2 separate regions of the Homo sapiens genome follow, and region 1 is linked to region 2. Evidence: promoter capture Hi-C in human tissues and cell types (Jung and others, 2019). All regions are on one chromosome and are shown on one strand. The core of a region is centred on a gene start or on the middle of the fragment in contact, and the rest is flanking DNA. Distances in the headings are between cores, read along the strand shown. Region 1 overlaps HELQ (helicase, POLQ like). Region 2 holds the start of HPSE (heparanase).

Region 1 (5,588 bases), core at 1,282-3,781, 82 kb after region 2:
AAATAAATCCAGAAGGGATAATGAAGTTAGAAAATCACCTCTTGATAAGCATCATGGAAATAATGGAGTTAGGCAAACATCACTAGTAAATGCTGAAACAAGTGTGTGAAAGTTTAATGAACCTTTTTTTTTTAGGTGCTATAGCAAAGGAAATGACTATAACTTCATCCCTACCAACCCCAAGAACTCCTAATTTAACGGGACAAGGTCAATCTTAGTGGTTTCATCTATAAATTGGGGGTAACACTGACTTTGTCCACCTCATAGGTTTGTTGTAAAGAACAATTAAGGTAATGTAAGCAATGTGAGCACCATTAAAAAATGATGGAAAGCTAATTCTGATTTATATATGAAAATAGTAAAACAATGAAGCTTCAAAGAAGCCAAGCAATTTCAGACTTAGAACCACAGTTGAGATCAAGAAGGAAACAATCTCAAATTGCTGTGGAATGGCTTTACCCACAGGGAGCAGAAGGCAATGGCAAACTGGGTTGCATCTAGCAAAGGGTAACTAGGACAGTGAATGGCCTAAAACTTGATTATTTAATACAGATAAAAGCAACAGAAAAGAGAAACCCTTGGGGGCAATAAGAGCTGTTTTTGAATATGTGAAAAACAGCATACAAACAAAAAAAGAGTCCAGTTCCAGAGGTAGTACTCTGATGCAATGGTAGAAATTTTAAGAAGGCAAAATTTAGCCTCAGTATATCAGGATAATTTTTGTAACACTAAGAGTGTACAAAAATAGACAACCTAATTTTTGATGATGCAGGCTCCTTGTCAGTGCTGGTGCTCAAAGGTGGAGAGACCAGATGCTGGGATGCTGAGGAAAGGATTCCTGTGAAGAGAACTTTGGGAGACAGAGCTCAGTGACTTCCAGGGTTCTTTATACTTCAATGAACCCTTGAAATTGTCTTTTTTTTTTTTTTAAGACAGACTCTCACTCTGTCACCCAGGTTGGAGTGCAGTGGCATAATCTTGGCTCACTACAACCTCCACCTCCTGGGTTCAAGTGATTCTCATGCCTCAGCTTCCTGAGTAGCTGGGATTACAGGTGTGGGCCTACAGGTGTGGGCCACCACGCCTGGCTAATTTTTATACTTTTAGTAGAGACAGGGTTTTACCATGTTGGCCAGGCTGGTCTCAAATTCCTGGCTTCAAGTGATCCACCTGCCTTGGCCTCCCAAAGTGCTGGGATTATAGGTGTGAGCCACCGAACCCAGCCATTTTTTTTTTTTTTTTTGAGACAGAATCTCGCTCTGTCAGCCAGGCTGGAGTGCAGTGGTATGATCTCGGCTCACTGCCATCTCCGTCTCCTGGGCTCAAGCAATTCTCCTGCCTCAGCCTCCCGAGTAGCTGGGATTATAGGCGTGTGCCACCAAGTCTGGCTAAATTTTTGTATTTTTAGTGGAGATGGGGTTTCACCATGTTGGCCAGGCTGGTCTCGAACTCCTGACCTCAGGTAATCCACCTGCCTCGGCCTCCCAAAGTGCTGGGATTACAGGCATGAGGCACCATGCCTGGCATTTTTTTTGGGGCGGGGGGACAGGGTCTCAATCTGTCATCCTAGCTCAGTGCAGCCTTGAACTCCTGGGCTCAAGCGATCCTCTTGCCTCAGTCTCCGGAGTAGCTAGAACTACAGCACAAACCACCACACCCAGTTAGTTTTTAAATTTTTTTGCAGAAACAGAGTCTCATTATGTTGCCCAGGCTGGTCTCAAACTCCTGATTTCAAGCCATCCTCCCCATCTTGACCTTCCAAAGAGCTGGGATTACAGGCATGAGCCACCACTGAAATTTTCTTTATTTTTTAGCAGGTCCTTTTTTTGTTTTGCAAGGCTTGTGTCACAACAGATGCATTATTTTTACTCACAAATAAGAGTATGTACTTTTGTATCTATAGAAATAAACAGTTATGCAATGTGAAATGTTTTTGTTCTGATGTCTATAATACAAGGAAATAACACTACGCAAGATTATTAAGGTTAAAAAATGGTTTGTTTGCTTACCTTTGCTGATGAAACAATTTGCTTGGCTTGGCGTCTTGATAAATGATCAATTGTCCTTACGAGCACTTCAGGATTTGCATTAGCTAAGTGCATTAGACTTTTGTAACCTGCACTGTATAACTGTTTTGCTCGACCCTGAAAAGTGTTACAAAAATCAGTAGGATAATAGTTTGGGATTAGAAAAAAGAAAATTAAGCACTTTACTGAAAAGAACAAAAACTGCATGTAAGAGACTGGGATAAAATAAAGTAAATATGAAGAGACAAGACATGAGAATACTGAGGAATTTTTAAAAATGCATTTGGGTGGTTCCAAACTGACTACAAGGTAACTATAGTTCTATGCAGCTTGAGTCAACTGATGTGTGCTGCAATCAAGAAAAGAAACCCACTTAGGTTGGTGGCATCATCTCATATCCTCAAGTAAAATGTTCTAGTCCAGTATCTTTCTTTCTTTCTTCTTTTTCTTTTCTTTTCTTTTTTTTTTTTTTGAGAAAGAGTCTTGCTCTGTTGCCCAGGCTGGAGTGCAATGGTGCGATCTTGGCTTATGGCAACCTGCACCACTCACGTTCACAAAATTTTCTTGCCTCAGCCTCCCAAGTAGCTGGGATTACAGGCGCACGACACCATACTTGGCTAATTTTTGTATTTTTAGTAAAGATGGGGTTTCACCATGTGGGCCAGGTTGGTTTTGAACTCCTGACCTCAATTGATCCACCCACCTTGGCCTCCCAAAGTGCTGTGATTGCAGCATGAGCCACATCATCAGGCCAAGTCCAATATCTTTCAGTGTTCTCACCATCTACTCAGGGGACCACTGGTGTCTCTCTCTGTGTGTGTGCGTGTGTCCTAAGCAGAACTCCTCTGACTCAAGAACTGAATAACAGAGAATAAACTGAAGTTGAGGGTTGGCTGAAAATAGAAAGCTGGAAAACCAGTTGCGAACCCTTTCTTCTTACTCTCTTAGAAAAAATACAAATGACCCTTTCTGCCACTGAATCACCATTATCTTAAACAAGCACTGAGTCCAAACTGACAGAAGGTAATTCTTCAAAGGAGTGGAGGAAGGAAGAAGTGTTAAGGACAACCGGTAGCACAACATACTTGGAGACAGTCACTCCCACCCTTCCTGTTATGTTTTTTTTTTCACAACTGAGATTTTTCATCAGGTATGCCATCTAGTAACAGCGGATTTCTGGAAGGCCATAACAGCTATTTGTTTTAAATAAAAGATTCCCATGACAAATGAGCAATTAAGGCTCTTGCTATCACTTCCTCTGTATTAAGACTTCAGAAAATAATAAAACCTGGCTTCTGTATTAATTCAACATAATTTCAATTGGGAAACCAACAAGCTACTGACCTCTAAAACTCCAGTAACTTCCATGAGAGGGATTAATTCTGCCTTTACACAGTAAGTCAGCTTCTTGGTAAGTTCTACCAAAAGGGCTCTGTAAACCCAAAACTCCTCAAGCTCCTGTAGAACACAAAGAAATATATAAAATTTAAATTTTGTAAGTTATTTCAAAGTTTGGTTTGTGTGATAGGGGGCTCAGAGAGAATGTTCCTTACATAAGTTCTGGAACTTGAGTTAAGCCAGAGATGAAAGATGATTCTAAGCAAAACAGATGTGAAGAAACATGGGGAGGACCCTGAGGAATTTGAGGAACTGGTTTTAGGATGAGGAAAAGATTGAAAATTGAAAAATAAGTCAATAAAAAGAGTTCTGGTCATTTTAATCAAAATACCTGGAAGAAAATGCATAGTTTTTCTTTCCCAAGTGACTAAAAACAATTCCTACATCTGGAATTTATCTGGAAGATGAATATTAAATATGGAAATATTCAAATGTAACATGATGTTCAATGCAACAATACAATAATAAAAATACTGGAAGCCATGAGTCAATAACTGTTAAAGCTAGAAGGGTAAATGGGAATTCAATATAATATTTTGTCATAGATATTTGCAATATTCTATTATAGTAGTTTATTTTATTTTAAAGTTCCCTTTCTAGCCTTTGGATATCACTGTGAATGTACATGATGAATGGAACAGCATTAGCTAGCCATCTTGTGACTACTAAGAAAGAAATCAACGTAATGAAGATGGCAGAGTAAAAAGAAGAAAACCTTGAACAGAACTATTGAATCAATCAATCCTGAAGCTGCCTTAGTTCTGGCATGCCTGTTATATAAAATAATTATTTTTTCTTATTGTTTAAACCTTGATGGGTTTTTCTGTAACTTGTAGTTAAAAGCATCTTAACTAACACAATTAATGTACCATTTCATACCATTTATAACTTTTTAAAATAAAAAATACCTTAAAACAAGCTTGTCCAACCTGTGGCCCACAGGCCACATGCGGCCCAGGATGGCTTTGAATGTCACCCAAAACAAATTGGTAAACTTTCTTACAACACCATGAGATTTTTTTTTTTTTTTTTTTCTAGCTCATAAGCTATTGTTAGTGTATTTTATGTGTGGCTCAAGACGATTCTTCTTCCAATGTGGCCCAGGGAAGCCAAAAGATTGAACACCCCTGCCTTGAAATATTGAAAGTAGACCAGGTGTGGTGGCTCATGCCTGTAATCCCAGCACTCTGGGAGGCCAAGGTGGGAGGACTGCTTGAGTCCAGGAGTTTGAGGCCAGCCTGGGCAACACAGCAAGATCCCTGCCTCTATTGATAATAATTTGAAAAATTATATACATGTAATATATATCATATAATTATATATTTATATTATATGTAATTATATAATTATGATATATATAAATGAAGTAAATTAATTAGAGTACAAATTGTCAGCTAGATTTTTCTTAGGATTAGTCATCAAATTATTGCTGTTTTTCTTGATGCTTCATAGAGTTTTTTACTTAAACAATTCTATAAGGCTCAAGTCCTCATAGTCGCAATGAAAACAAAGGGAAAAAATATTAGGGAAAGCATCTTTAAATATACAAAACAACAAATATAGAAGACTTAAGAAAATACATTTTAAAGGCTAGCTTCTTCTTATTACCCATAATTTTTGTCTTCTGTTTAACTAGCATGTGCTCAGGGGGTATAAACCAACATTTAAAAATCAGCACAAGTAAAAGATATTTAGAAAGCTAAATTTGTTAAAATAATTATCATTCAATTGAAAGCCAAGTATTTTTGAATTATTTACTCCTTTCATTAGCACATATGATAGAATTAATTGCCATATACATATACAGAATATGAAGGTTTAAGAAAGGGAAAATGAAGTAAATTTTAAATTTAGAAAACAATTCATGGGAAAAAAGTTTTAGAAAATTGACTTGGAAACAAATATGGAAAGGATTATTATGCCACCCAATAAGAAGAAATCTAAATGCAGCAAAAATGGCTTATATTATAAACACATAAAAAAAGTATCTGGATGTAAAAGCCTGGTAAGCTTTATTGTGCTATTTAAAGGAATTCTGAAAGCTTATTTTAATAAAGTCTTAAATCCATCACAAATGCATATGACCAGTATAAGGTTTCCTTCTTAAATTGTTCTATAAAATACACATTTGATGTAAAAGCTTTAAATAGCTGCCTGACACTG
Region 2 (5,579 bases), core at 2,645-5,144:
CAACACTTTGGGAGGCCGAGGTGGGCATATCACCTGAGCTCAGGAGTTTGAGATTAGCCTGGCCAACATGGTGAAACCCTGTCTCTACTAAAAATACACAATTAGCCAGGCGTGGTGGTGCATGCCTCTAGTCCCAGCTACTTGGGAGACTGAGGCAGGAGAATAACTTGAACCCGGGAGGCGGAGGTTGCAGTGAGCCGAGGTAACGCCATTGTACTCTAGCTTGGGTGACAAGAGCAAAATTGTCTCGGAAAAAAAAAAGAAAGAAAGAAATATAGTCTGAGAAGTGCTGTAAATAATACACGCCAGATTATAGAATAGACTTGGTTTGAGAAAAGGAATAATAAATACCTCATTAATATTTTTATATTGATTACATGCTGAGAAAACATTTTGGATCTATTGAACTAAATAAAATTATTAAAATTAATTTCACTTGTTTCTTTTTACCTTTTTAATATGGCTACTAGAAAATTTAAAATTACATATGACCTTGCATATGAGGCCCACATTATATTATATTTCCATTGGACAGTGTTGATTTAGGGCTGGGCTCTCTTTGGAGTTCTGCACACAGTTAGGCTTAGGAAGTATTTTGATTGGTTTCTTGATTAAGTCCCTCTGGGAAGACGACAAATTGAAAGATTTTTTCTTTCAAATTTTAGATTGCTCTATCATTGGTATTTAAGTTTTGTGTGGAGTTGGGCTGTACACAATGTATTTGCCATCATGGAGACTAGAACCACGCCAGTGACTAAGTTTGCTTAGGCCTCTTTGAAGTACCTTAGATGAAGGTTTGGGCCCTGATACTGTTACTCTCATGTGAATGCTTCTTTTCATTATATCAATCTCTCAATTCCTTTCCAAACAATCTTTTTCTACCATATCCTACTCTCTTTCCTTTAAAAAATATAATCTGCTTTCCCTTTTTATGGGCACTATTATCTCATGTGATCAGAGTCTAGTTTCAAACTGTGGCCAAGTTACTTAACCTCCCTGAGCCTCACTTTCTTCATTTTTAAAATGGGGGTGACAAAACTAGTCACTCACAGTGTTGTAGCCAAGACTAAATGGATTAATACCTAGAAGGTGCTTAGAACAGGGCCAGGCAAATGACAAGAACTGAGGAAGTGTCAGCTGTTTGTGTCCTCCTCTCTTTCCTTATTCCTTCAGCTTTCGTCTGCTCAGCTCTTGCCATCCCGCCCACACATCTTCACTTTTGAGGAACTGTAATAAATTAAACAACAGGCGTCTTACTCTCCTCTACTGTGGACCCCTACAAAGCTTAGTGTTGTCTTCTGAGATGGCTGGGCTGTTTGGGCCCTGTGCCCCTCCTGGGGAGATGGACCCTCACACTCTAATTTAGAAGCTAGGTCTTAGATGAGGAGAGGGGGTTCCTCCCTCTTTTAGGTCTTAGCAGATAACACTCTGGGTGTGCTTGTCGATGCGTCTGGGGAGCAGGTATGGCAGATGGCCTCTCCAAGCGAAGCGGGCTGGAACAGACAGCAGCCAGCCTTGGAGAGAAGCACGTATGGACAAGAATGAACTGTTTTGTAAACCAGAAAAAAAGTTTTATGTATCACATGTTATGCTCTCTTGGTATTTCATTATACTCCAGTCTTTAACAAAAAGGTGCAGAGGAGGGGAAAAAAGGGTGCTCTGGGAAATGAAGAGATGTATTTAAGAAGAATAAAGGTATCATCCTCACTAAATTGCAGATTGGAATTTCTACGTGTTAGGGGGGTGTTAGTCAATTGCGGGGAGCTTGACTGCTGGGTGATCAGGCCCAGATCCTGGAAGTCCCACTGTATGTTTTTTCTTTTGGACCTGTTACTCCAGGGGGGAACCCCCATCTGTCCTTTCTTGGGGAGAGGTTGGGGAATATGCTGGCTACAGCAATAGAAGAGGCCTCAGGTCCTCACATTTCAGTAAATGGACATCTACTTCATACCCATGTTCAGTAACCGCCCCCCCCCACCCCACACCCCAGCAAGCTAAGACTGGGGTCCTGTGATCTGGAGCCCTATGGTTCAGCATTTCTCTGGAACAATCTTCCTATCCCCCAACTAGTTGCTGCCTAGTATCAGCTTCCTATCCTTAAGGGGAAGGGCAGAAAGTAAGGATTCTTCCCCACCAGAAAATTGTAGTGCCAGAAGGAAAAGGAGAGGTTAACTATGATCCAAAGAAACAGAAAACCGGTGAATGGCTACCAAATGCTCACCATGTCCTAGAAAGAAACAATTCGTTTGAAACGTCAAACACTTACTATGGGTCAAACACTGAGAAGCTCTTACCATATCATCAAATCCTCGGGCAATAATCCTTGAGGCAAGCTTGAGAAATTCCATTCTACAGCTGAAGAAATCAAGGTTGGTGTGGCCAAGAGATATGGAAAAACCAAGTCACTCATCTTTGCCAGAGCTGAGAGTCAAGCCAGGATGGTCTGTCCATCTCTTAACCAGTACACTACCCATTAAATTAGCGCTGGCAACTATAGTGTGGGCTCAGGGAGGACAGCATCTAGGTATTTGACACAGAGGTGAGATAATGGTGATCTTTCCCTCTATCTGGGCTGGTCAAGATGTGGCCATCTCTGGAGGCTCCCAGGGCCTAAATAAGAGGCCTAGAAGACCTGGGATTGTCCCTGTAGCTCCCCATCTTGGAGTCAGCCTGCATTCATGGGGCAGGAGCCCTGAACCTGCATCAGGTTCCTTCTTTCTCAGGTAAGGAAAAAACTTAGAGCTGATAAGGCAGCACCACATTTTGCAGCCCCATTTTGGAGAGACATCTTTTTATTAGGACTTTGTAAGTCACTGCAGTAGTCTCCTAGGTCTCATTTATTGAATATTTAGATTTTTATTCCTGTTCTGTGACGCCCTTTTCATCTGCCTAAAAAAAAAAAAAGAAAAGAAAAAAGAAAAAGAAAAGAAAAGAAAGAGAAATCTTCCTAACACAGTCTTAAATACAGAAGGCTATGCACAATCTTACTTGTCCTACACTGCACAGCAAATCAAGCACTCACAGGCCTTCAGGTGCACCTGCCTGGTTTCCCTCCTCTTGGCTAGGGAAGTACTGGGGCAAGTGGGCAGTTTCTTTTTCAAATTTCCACTTATACCTGACCTTAGGTGGTGCCTATTCAACACTTACAGAATGAATGAAACAAAAAGGCTCATTTAGAGTGGGCGCTAAACAATGTGTACACATGGACTTAGTGGAATAGTAGACACTGGAGACTCCAAAAGGTGGGAGGGTGGGAGAGGGATGAGGGATGAGAAATTACCTATTAGATACAATGTACAACATTCGGGTGACAGTTACACTAAGAGCCCAGATGCCACCACAATGCAATATACCCATGGAACAGAACTGCACTTGTAACCCCTAAATCTATTTTTTAAATGATACCCCCCAAAAAGCAGTTTGGGGTCTGAGAGTAAGGGAGGGAGAGGGAGAATGAGAGGCGGGAAGTGGGGTGGGGAGAGACAGGCGGGGAGGTTCCGGTGTGAAGTTGTTTCCGCGCAAAAGAAGGAGAGCGGCTGGCGGGGCAGACATAGGTGTCAGGAGGACAGGAAAGGGGACAGGACCAGGAGGCTGGCGCTTACCCCAGGAGGATGAGGAACCGCGGGTCCGTGGCCAGGTTGGCGTCAATGGTGACGGACAGGAACGAGGGGCTCACCAGGTGCAGCGGCTCCTGGGTGAAGAAGTCCAGGTCCACGACGTCCTGTGCTTGCGCAGGTCGGGGCAGGGCGCCAGGGGAGAGGGGACCCAGCGGCCCCAGGAGCAGCAGCATCAGCGGCGGCGGCAGCGCAGGCTTCGAGCGCAGCAGCATCTTGGGCTCACCTGGCTGCTCCCCCCGCCAGCTGCCGCGCAGCGGAGAGTCGAGAGCTCTAGCACTTCCTCCCGCCGAGCCCCAGCGCCCTTTTCTCCTTTCCTCCGCCCCGTTACGCCTCCTCACCCCTCCCACTGCGCCCTCCATCCCTCCCACTCCTCTTCTGCATCCCTCCCACTGCTCCCAATCCAACCCCGCCCCGCCTGCCCGGCTCTCTCCTACTTCCTTGCTCGCTTTCCCCTCGGTGGCGGTCACGTTCACTTACGAAATCACCCACACCCACTTGAAGGGTGCGGAGATGGCCGGGATCCAAGCGCCCGGGAGGCCTGGGGAGGAGCGCCCGGGGAGGAGCGCCCGGGGAGCAGCGCTGGGCATCCCGGACCAGGCTTCCTGACGCACGTGTTCTGCGCGCTCTCGTGGGAACCCAGCGTTTCCGACTCCCAGATCCCATTCTGATGGCGCCGGGTATCCCTCTGACCCTCGAGTAAAACCTCCAATGGAGTATTCATCCCTTCCTCTCCCATCTAGCTTATAAACACTTGCTTGTCACTTGAGCCAGCCAAAATCTGATTGTCCTCTGGCCAGGCAGTTTCTCAGGTATTTTACTTTTGCTTGAAAAAATCTGGCCTCAGCATACGCTAAACTGCAGCTGGAAAGAGATCAACCACCCAAAATTCTTTATCAACTTCTCATTAAGACAATATTTAGCAATCTTAAAGGGTTAGTTGCTCCAATGTCTGGAACTCAGGACCTGAAGCCCCCATACAAAGTGTAGAGTACGGACTGCCCCTGAATTTGGAGCCTTTGCCAAATTTCTCCTCTGCGCATTTATCTTTCGCTGTTGGTCAGACTTTTCTTCAGCTTTTCCTTGATGCTTACACTGATGTATAATCATAGCAAGCATCGCACGCTTAGTGCCTACTGTATGCCTGATACAGGTGCTTTACTTGTGTTCTCTTCCCTTCTCACAACCCTGCCAAGTGCATACTGTCCTTGTTTTACACATGCGGACCCAAGCTCTGAGACAGTAACTGGGTGAAGTGTCAGAATCGGGATGTGAAGTGTCAGAATCGGGATGTGAATGCAGTTACAAAACCTCGAGCAGATGGCAGTGTGTTTCAGCTGAAATGTAACTTCCCTCAAGGAAGCTTTCTCTCAATCTCCAGGCAGCTCTCCATGACACACTCTCATAGCATCCTCAATTTGTTAGACACTCTCGTAGCATCCTCAATTTGTTAGACACTCTCGTAGCATCCTCAATTTGTTAGTATTGTGATGTTGCTCAACATTGGCTTCATCTACTAGATTATATGCTCCACCAAAACAGAGATTAAGTTTGTCTCACACGCTATGCTAGCCATAGCTCAGGCATGTGATCATGTTGGTGCTTAGTAAGAGTCTAATAAATATTGGTTGAGTAAGCAAATAACACCAAAACCCTTAGATTTTTCCACTTGAGATTGTACCACCAATAAGGCAACAAATAAAAATAGATTATTTTGAAATGCATATCTAATTTGCATAAATCAGGCCAGGCATGGTATGTGATGCCAGTGATGCCATCATGCCTGTGATGCCAGCATTTTGGGAGGCCAAGGTGGGAGGATTGCTTGAGCCGAGGAATTCAAGAACAGCCTGGGCAACATGATGAAACCCCATCTCTACAAAAAATACAAAAAATTAGCCAGGCGTGGTGGCCCGTGCCTGTGGTTCCAGCTACTGGGGAGGCTGAGGTGGGAGGTTTATTTGA

The links. The method cuts DNA at HindIII sites, captures the fragments that hold promoters and counts their contacts. A contact is called where the count stands out against the background at its distance.
Region 1: a contact is called between a fragment that was not itself captured here and the fragment with the promoter of HPSE in region 2, in 2 of the 25 tissues and cell types used here (IMR-90 fibroblasts and adrenal gland).

Annotation. Positions count from the first base shown.
Region 1 is chr4:83,414,722-83,420,309 of GRCh38, forward strand. HELQ (helicase, POLQ like) reads right to left here. Exons shown (of 18, transcript NM_133636.5): 16 at 3,372-3,485; 17 at 2,010-2,144. Among named protein-coding and RNA genes, the nearest start is that of HELQ, 38 kb to the right of the region's middle. The HindIII fragment of the contact is 4,716 bases long and covers 174-4,889 here.
Region 2 is chr4:83,330,954-83,336,532 of GRCh38, forward strand. HPSE (heparanase) reads right to left here and starts at 3,895. Exons shown (of 12, transcript NM_001098540.3): 1 at 3,603-3,895. The coding sequence starts at 3,829. The HindIII fragment of the contact is 4,578 bases long and covers 1,809-5,579 here.